Regions from separate parts of the Homo sapiens genome. Here all the other regions are linked to region 3. The links are contacts of gene promoters, found by promoter capture Hi-C in human tissues and cell types (Jung and others, 2019). All regions are on one chromosome and are shown on one strand. Each heading gives the region's core, a stretch centred on a gene start or on the middle of the fragment in contact. The rest is flanking DNA. Distances are from core to core; before and after follow the strand shown. Region 1 overlaps FAM13A (family with sequence similarity 13 member A). Region 2 overlaps FAM13A (family with sequence similarity 13 member A). Region 3 holds the start of PIGY (phosphatidylinositol glycan anchor biosynthesis class Y).

Region 1 (2,719 bases), core at 103-2,602, 370 kb before region 3:
GATATGACTGATGTATCCTAATGTACCATCTTTCCTCTCTCAAATTAACACTATTGAAAAATTAAATTAGGCCATGTGTGGTGGCTCATGCCTGTAATTCCAGCACTATAGGAGGCTGAGGTGGGTGGATCACGTGAGGCCAGGAGTTCTAGACCAGCCTGGCCAACTTGGCAAAACCCTGTCTCTACTCAAAATACAAAAATTAGCCGGCCATGGTGGCGCATGCCTGTAATCTCAGCTACTCAGGAGGTTGAGGCACAAGAATTGCTTGAACCTGGGAGGCTGAGGTTGCAGTGAGCCAAGATTGCCACTGCACTCCAGCCTGAGTGACAGAGTGAGACTCTGTATCAAAAAATAAAAATAAAATTAATACTTATCATTTCCATGCATGTTATTATAGGAACACTGCATATCTATATATATACTTATACATAATATATGCTATAGTCTTTGCATGTTTTAAAACATTATATAAAAATAGTACATAGTGTGTTGCCTTCTGTGGCTTCATTTTTTTTCTGTTCAATATGCTGTCAATATTAACTTTCAGTAAGAATATGGTTGTTATTCTAATTTTTCCCCAATACTTAGATTGTCTCCAATATTTAAGTCACTTCCAATAGTTTGCTATTACAAATATTTTTAAGTGAATAATTTTCATGTGACTCATTCTATGCACATGGAAATATTAGATCGTAAGCATGTGCATCTTTAACTTGTCAGGACATTTCAAATGCTCTTAGGATGTTGCATCAATTTACATGCTAACATCTGTATATGACTGCTTCCATTTTTCACATCCTCACCAGTCCTTGGTAATAGGAGTTTTTGTTGTTACTGCTTTTTCTCAACCTAATGGTTATAAGATGCATCTTGCTATTGCCTTAATTTGGATTGCACTAATTTCTAGTTGTGCCAGAGACACTGAATATCCATGTGTTTCCCAGCCCCTTTGCAGTTAGGTCGGGCCAGTCAACTACTTTGGGTCAATATAGTGTTACTTCAGGAGAGAATCCAAAAGCTTGTGCGTAACTCTTGAACTGTTTCTTTTTTTTTTTTTTTTTGAGACGGAGTCTCGCTCCATCAGCCTGGCTGGAGTGCAGTGGCGCGATCTCGGCTCACTGCAGCTCCGCCTCCCGGGTTCACGCCATTCTCCTGCCTCACCCTCCCGAGTAGCTAGCTGTAGGTGGGACTACAGGCGCCCGCCACCACGCCCGGCTTATTTATTTATTTATTTATTTATTTATTCATTCATTCATTCATTCATTGAGACAGAGTCTGGCTCTGTCGCCCAGGCTGGAGTGCAGTGGCACAATCTCGGCTCACTGCAAGCTCCGCCTCCTGGGTTCACGCCATTCTCCTGTCTCAACCTCCTGAGTAGCTGGGACTACAGGCGCCCGCCACCACGCCCAGCTAATTTTTTGTATTTTTAGTAAGACGGGGTTTCACCGTGTTAGCCAAGATGGTCTCAATCTCATGACCTCGTGATCCGCCCGCCTTGGCCTCCCAAAGTGCTGGGATTAAAGGCGTGAGCCACTGCACCCAGCCTGAACTGTTTCTTATTGTACGGCAGCTGCACAGTGGAGCATGGACCTTTTCGTTTCTTTGTGGAGCAGAGCCCCCTGTCAACCTGTTTTGGATCTGTGTCATGACCAAAAAATAAACCTCTGTTTTGTGAAGCTACTGAGATTTGGGGTTTAATTTGTAAACTCATCATAATCAAGTCTATCCTGATTAATACAAATGGGCAGTTTTTCATATGTTTATGTTGTCATATGTTTATTAAGCTTTGATCATATCTGTGATGATTAATTTGTGTGCTGCTTTCTTCTATCACTGATAGTTTTACTATTGGATTATCACTTTTTTAATGATTTGTAAGAGTTTGTTTGTTAGCTGTTATCAGTTGTATGTATTCAAAGTACCTTTTCTCAGTTTTTTGGTTTTCTTTTCATATTGAATATAGTACCTTTTAATGTATAAAAGATTTTTTTAATATGATCAAATAAATCAATATTGTATCAACTAAAAATAATGTAATATCAGCAAAAAATAATGAGCATTGTTTATTCTTTTTCAAGCCTTTTATCATTTGACTTGTTTTCTTTTTTTCTTTCTTTTGGTTTTGTCCTACTGTGTTGGTAGTGCTTTCAGTACAAGGTTAGGTAAAAGCGGTGATAGCATGCCTCCTTGACTTACTCCCAGATTTTAAGGGAAAATTTCTACATCTGACTTTTAAGTATGATCTTGGCACTTAAAAAAATAATTATTTTAGAATGCCAGACACATAGTGGACCCTTAATAAAGACTTGAAAGTGAACAAATAAATTATTCAACTGCTACTTTTATTTTGTATGAAAGTAGTTGGCGTCAGTATTTTTGTTGTTGTTGTTTCTTTCTTTTAGAAGACAGGGCCAGGTGCAGTGGCTCACGCCTGTAATCCCAGCACTTTGGGAGGCCGAGGCGGGCAGGTCACGAGGTCAGGAGATCGAGACCATCCTGGCTAACATGGTGAAACCCCATCTCTACTAAAAATACAAAAAATTAGCCAGGCGTGGTGGCGGGCGCCTGTAGTCCCAGCTACTCGGGAGGCTGAGGCAGTAGAATGGTGTGAACCCGGGAGGTGGAGCTTGCAGTGAGCCGAGATCTCGCCACTGCACTCCAGCCTGGGTGACAGAGCCAGACTCCGTCTCAAAAAAAAAAAAAAAAAAAAAAAAGA
Region 2 (2,700 bases), core at 88-2,587, 260 kb before region 3:
ATATATAGTTCTTTTTCAAGCGAAGAAAAACAAGGTTTGAGGACTCTGAGTTAAGAGCTTTCCATACCAGCTTATTTGGAAATAATGTGGTGCTAAAAGGTATACACACCTTGAAAGATTCTACAGCTTTAAAAATGATTCCATTTCTAGCTTACCATGCACTTTTCAGCACTTTGTGCTTATGTGTTTTCCTCATGTTGAACAAAGTAAATCTATCCTTCCAATTTCAGTAATATGTTCTGGGGTGTTTGCATGAATACAGCTTTAATTATAAACATCACAATTTAATTGAATAGAGGTTAGGAAAGATTATGCCATGCTGTTGTGAGTTCTAATTGTTCTGGTGAGTTTTTTCCCAAAATATCATTATTTTCATATAATTTTGTCTTAGATTGTAAATAGATAATAGGCATCATAAAATTATTTGTGCCAGTTTGCTTTGCAAATCACTCTCTCTTCCTCTGTAGAATTGGTATGAAATTGCCTTTGTAAGAATAGGTCTACTATTATTCTATGAGGGCAAAAAAAATCTTTCCTCATTCTTCCTTATATTGATTGACCCCTGTTTCCTGAATGCCTCATAATTGTTGCTAGACTTGCCATGAGCATTTCAGCAATACTGGCTTCACAAAGATGAGAAAGTTGTTAAATTGGCAGAATTGTTTTCGTTTAGTTTTGGTTTTAACACATAATGCAGATATTTTTTAGATTAATGCCTCATCATCTCTCTTTGCTTATGAAGTTCTAAAGACTTTCCACTGGAAATACAGATGTTCCCAAAACTGTAGGCACAGATTTTTTAAGGTGATCACTGATGAACTTGACTGCTTGAATGACTCTGCATTCTTTTTTGCCAGACTCTTAGAAAGAACCATCCGATCAGCTGTAGAACAACATCTTTTTGATGTTAATAACTCTGGAGGTCAAAGTTCAGAGGACTCAGAATCTGGAACACTATCAGCATCTTCTGCCACATCTGCCAGACAGCGCCGCCGCCAGTCCAAGGAGCAGGATGAAGTTCGACATGGGAGAGACAAGTGAGTTGGCATTGATTCTTCCTCTTACTTGAGTTTTCTCTTTTTAAAAGAAATATACACCCAAATTAGTCGCTGTGTTATAGTCATACCTCCTGGTCCTCTCCCATTTCAGTATTTAGGTTAAAACTTTAAGAGTTATCAGTTTGTCCATTCTAAACTTAGCTACATTTGGAAATTCATAGGTAATTGCATAAATATTTCCGTTTCATCCAGACATTTGGTATGTTGTTAGAAGCCACCTCTGATTGAATACACCCTATGGCTTCCTCATAAATATCTTATTTAGAGGGATTCTGAACCATGGGCAGAGAAAGTTACCATATGCTTGTCCAGAGGTATTTTTTTTCTTGCTAGACAACATTAAGTTGACTATTTAGACTTGTTTATGGAGCAGCTGATTTCTCCATTATATTTATGTGATTAAATAGTCAGATATCCCTATAATACTCTGACATTTGATTATGTTTTAGTATAAGAAAGGTTGGGCTTAAATCTACTCAAAAAATGAAAAGCTTAAGTTGTTTATTATAATAATCACTAATTTTAAGGCATTCCCATAGTATGAATTTTAAGAATAGTGTTACAAAGAGCTTTATTCTCCATGAAAAGATTTAATAAAATACAGATGAACAATTACCATTTATATTATTTAATAATCATGACTTAAATTGTCAAGGAAAATAAATTTATATAGAGAATAGACTATACAGATATTCATATATTTTCCCTGAAAGTTCCAAGGTTATTTTTATTGACTATGGCCTTTAGCCTCTTTATGGTTTAATAATGACTCCTTATTAAATGTCAGAAACTAACCTGAACCAGACCCTAGCACCCCTCATTCTTTTTCTTTCTTTTCTTAATTTTTAATCTTTATGAATATATAATAGTCCCACACCCCTCATTCGCATTCTTTTTCACTTTGACTCATAATCTACATTAAACCCTTTATGGAAAAAGAAAAAAAACTTTTTTTCGCTTAAAGAAAAACATAAAAGATAAACAGTATAAATAAGTTTCATGCTATACCTCACCGAGATGTTTAAGAGCTATATTAGCAAATGTAATTTTAGAAATAAAGCAGTATCAATAATATAACCCACTGATTTACAAGTAGCATGTGCAGTACTTTTAAAATAAATTTTCATGGAGCTGGTGGATAGAATAGTTGTAATATTCCATTTAGAAAATAGAAAAAGTATAATATAGGAGATATTTACATTTCTTCTCCTGTGGCATGACATGAGATATTTACATTTAAAATTAGCTACTGACATGTTTATAGAAAGTGTTTAGAAGTATAATTAGTTTGTGTACTACCTCTAATGTGTTATAGAGAAAGCACAAATTATTCATTTAACACTGTTCTTATCCTCTGCCTCATTTTTTGCTGAGGAGTATGTAGCAACATTTTGCATTTTAAAAATATCCTCAGTGTGTCACGATATCCTGCTTTCCACCCTCTTTGTTTGGACAGAGGGCTAGCAGGTGGAGGTGGGAAGTGGTGGGGAGCATGAGAGAGAACAGAGAGTGATGGTGCTGTTGGTGGATGCTTGGCAGCAGGTCTGGGGGAGGACAGTGGAGGTAGAAACAGATAGGGGCCAGACAGGGCAGGGAAATGTGAAACACAGCCTCACCTCTCCTGAAGAATTTAAATAGAGAG
Region 3 (2,700 bases), core at 74-2,573:
ACTACATTAACCTTAGAAAATCTTCTGAGCATTAGTGAACAAAGAACATCAAAAAATAAACTGTTTTTTTTAAAAAAAACAGGATGGCCCAAAAAACAAACAAAAAATTAGGATGAACATATAAACATTTGTCAGTTTATTTTTACATTGGAGTGGAAGAGAAATTTGAAAATATAAACATATTTTTGGATTCTGTACTTCCAGCTCCAGGAACTCAAAGTGTGAAATGATAATGCCCAGTGATGCAAAAAAAAAGTTCAGGTTGATATTCAGCAGAACGGAGGGAAAAAATGGATGACTAATGAGAATCTTTGAGTCTTCGGACATGGAAAAACTAGATGAACTAAAAATAAAAATAGACAACATTAATGGAGCATTAATTTGTGCCAGGCACTTTTCTAAATGTTCTTCGAATGCACAATCACATTTATGCCCTACCTACAAGGTAGGTACAATTATTAGTCTTATACAGATAAGGAAAATGAGCAGTTAAGTCATTTGCCAAAGTCATCCAGCTACTAATTGTGGACAGGGAACCAAGCTGTCAGGCCCCAGAGCCCAAGTTCCCATCTACTACACTGTAAGAAAGAGATCTAACATGGTCACTTTCTTGGAGAGTGGGAAGCAAACCTGGGATACAAATTCACTGAATGGATCACCCACTCATTGAATGGATCTTTAACAGGCAGATCACATCTGCCTGTTACACAGCTATTTAGGCCCCTTGCGGCCTCCAAGCTCATTTATAGAAGTAAATTAGCTGTGCTTTATTACGCAAATACTTCACAATGACTGGGTCTCAGGCAGGAAGAATTTATATATTTTGGAGGGTCAGAGGCCTAGGCCCTTCCTTCCAGGTTCTCACTTTTTTTAATGAGAGAGAAAAAAGCCAAACAAGGTTACAGAAACTAATGGTATAGTAAAGATGTACATGAAACAAATGAGCGCTTTCAATACATCCATGACAATACATTCGGTACAATACATAACAGTGTGTTTGAAACTTCACTTGGAGGTAACCACGTAGGTCCAAGCCTAACTCCCTACAACTCTGAGGCCTGGCCACTGGCTTCCTAGCATCCTTGGACAGGCCCCGGTGAAAACCCAGACACCTTGACTTAAACACTGGTTTAGTTTGTAGTCTGGTAAGGCGGCGGGGCACTCACCAGAGGCCTCTGCCCTGGGGCTGTCCTCCGGACTATAGATGACGCCCGTGGGAAAAGCAGTCGGAGCAGAAGCACCCTCGGAACCAAAGCGCCCGCCCCGCCTACTCCTCGGCAGCGTTTCCTGGAGGACCAGGGGGCGGGGCCTGCCCGGCTGGCCTGGACGAACGGGAAGCCGGGAGCTCGGCCACGGGTGGCGAGGCTGCGGTGAGGCCTGGTCTCCGGCTGCCAGACCATGCTGAGTGGAGCACGCTGCAGGCTCGCCTCAGCGCTGCGGGGAACGCGCGCGCCGCCGTCCGCGGTCGCCCGTAGGTGCCTGCACGCGTCGGGGTCGCGGCCTTTGGCCGACCGGGGCAAGAAGACTGAGGAGCCGCCCCGCGACTTCGATCCGGCGCTGCTGGAGTTCCTGGTGTGCCCGCTCTCCAAGAAGCCGCTCAGGTAACTCGCTGGCCTTGGCCCTTCCTTTGCAGCCTCCCGGTGGGCGGAAAGGGAGCGGTGGACCGCGGCCTCTTGCAGCCACTGGGGCCTTGTAGGTCGGTCAGGTACTCTCCGCTGCCACATTCTGGACTCTGTCCTCGCCGGGCGCACAGCGGGCAGGACGGGGGAGACCGGAGGCCAGGGGAGCTGCGTCCCACATCTCCCAGAACGCAACGCCAGCCTGCGGGAATGGCTCGAAGCGTTTTAGGGTTCGCGACCGGCTGCGCATTGCAATCACCCGGGGACCGTTTTAAAAATGCCGATTCCCCGACAGCCCCCAAGACGGGCAGACTTGGAATGCTCGCGGGATGGGACCTGAACATTTGTATTTTCTTTTCCTTTTTTTTTTTCCTTTTAAGAGACAGGGTGCCCCCTACGTTGCCCAGACTGGCCTAGAACTCCCGCCTCAGCCTCCTCAGGAGTCGAGAGACAGGCGCCGCCCCCACGCCCAGCTTATCTGTGTTCTTAAACGGTCCCTAAATGATTTCTAATGTACCACCAGGTTTATGAACCACTGCGATTCAGGACAAGTCCGAAGCCTTCCGGTTTTTAAGCCAAGATAATGAAAAGTATTGTTGTACCCTCCAGATTCTTGTGAAAGTGTCTTGTACAACTGGTGCCTGACAATCTTAAGCAATTCAGCTGTGTTTGCTGCCCAGTGGCTCTTAGTTGTGGCCTAGCAGGTTTCGTAGAAGCCTCTTTAACTAGTTTTTGGGAAGACAGCTCTACAGTTTCCAAGCTACCAAAATTGAATATTGACAACACTAACGCTAGTATTACAAATCGCATAAACACCAAAATGTTATCAGTGGTTATCTTTGAATGGTAGATTGCTAGCAATTTTTCGTATTTCTTTTTCCCGTAATAAACATATTATTCAATTTTCTCGAACCTTGAAATTATCATTTGATTTACGTTTATAACTAGCTCACTGCAGACTTAGTGCTTTCGAAAGTTTCTTCATTTCTGCCCTCTCACCTTTTCCAGTGATTTCCTTCTAATGGATTAGTTAAGTTTCTCTACTTAGCATTTATTCTAAAATGAAGAAGTTGATTTTTCT

Evidence for each region. Contacts are between HindIII fragments. The study calls those that stand out against the background at their distance.
Region 1: a fragment that was not itself captured here is called in contact with the fragment with the promoter of PIGY in region 3 in 2 of the 25 tissues and cell types used here (IMR-90 fibroblasts and aorta).
Region 2: a fragment that was not itself captured here is called in contact with the fragment with the promoter of PIGY in region 3 in 2 of the 25 tissues and cell types used here (mesenchymal stem cells and mesendoderm cells).

The regions. Positions count from the first base shown.
Region 1 is chr4:88,892,172-88,894,890 of GRCh38, reverse strand. The region is part of intron 6 of FAM13A (family with sequence similarity 13 member A); the gene reads left to right. Among named protein-coding and RNA genes, the nearest start is that of FAM13A, 160 kb to the left of the region's middle. The HindIII fragment of the contact is 3,437 bases long and covers 1-2,719 here.
Region 2 is chr4:88,786,090-88,788,789 of GRCh38, reverse strand. FAM13A (family with sequence similarity 13 member A) reads left to right here. Exons shown (of 24, transcript NM_014883.4): 10 at 858-1,037. Among named protein-coding and RNA genes, the nearest start is that of FAM13A-AS1, 78 kb to the right of the region's middle. The HindIII fragment of the contact is 8,280 bases long and covers 1-2,700 here.
Region 3 is chr4:88,522,399-88,525,098 of GRCh38, reverse strand. PIGY (phosphatidylinositol glycan anchor biosynthesis class Y) reads left to right here and starts at 1,323. Exons shown (of 2, transcript NM_001042616.3): 1 at 1,323-1,601. It overlaps PYURF (PIGY upstream open reading frame), which reads left to right and starts at 1,323. Exons shown (of 2, transcript NM_032906.5): 1 at 1,323-1,601. The coding sequence starts at 1,399. It overlaps PIGY-DT (PIGY divergent transcript), which reads right to left and starts at 1,289. Exons shown (of 2, transcript NR_134663.1): 1 at 1,167-1,289; 2 at 108-334. It also overlaps a transcript of HERC3 not described here. RefSeq lists an enhancer at 1,966-2,025. The HindIII fragment of the contact is 23,527 bases long and covers 1-2,700 here.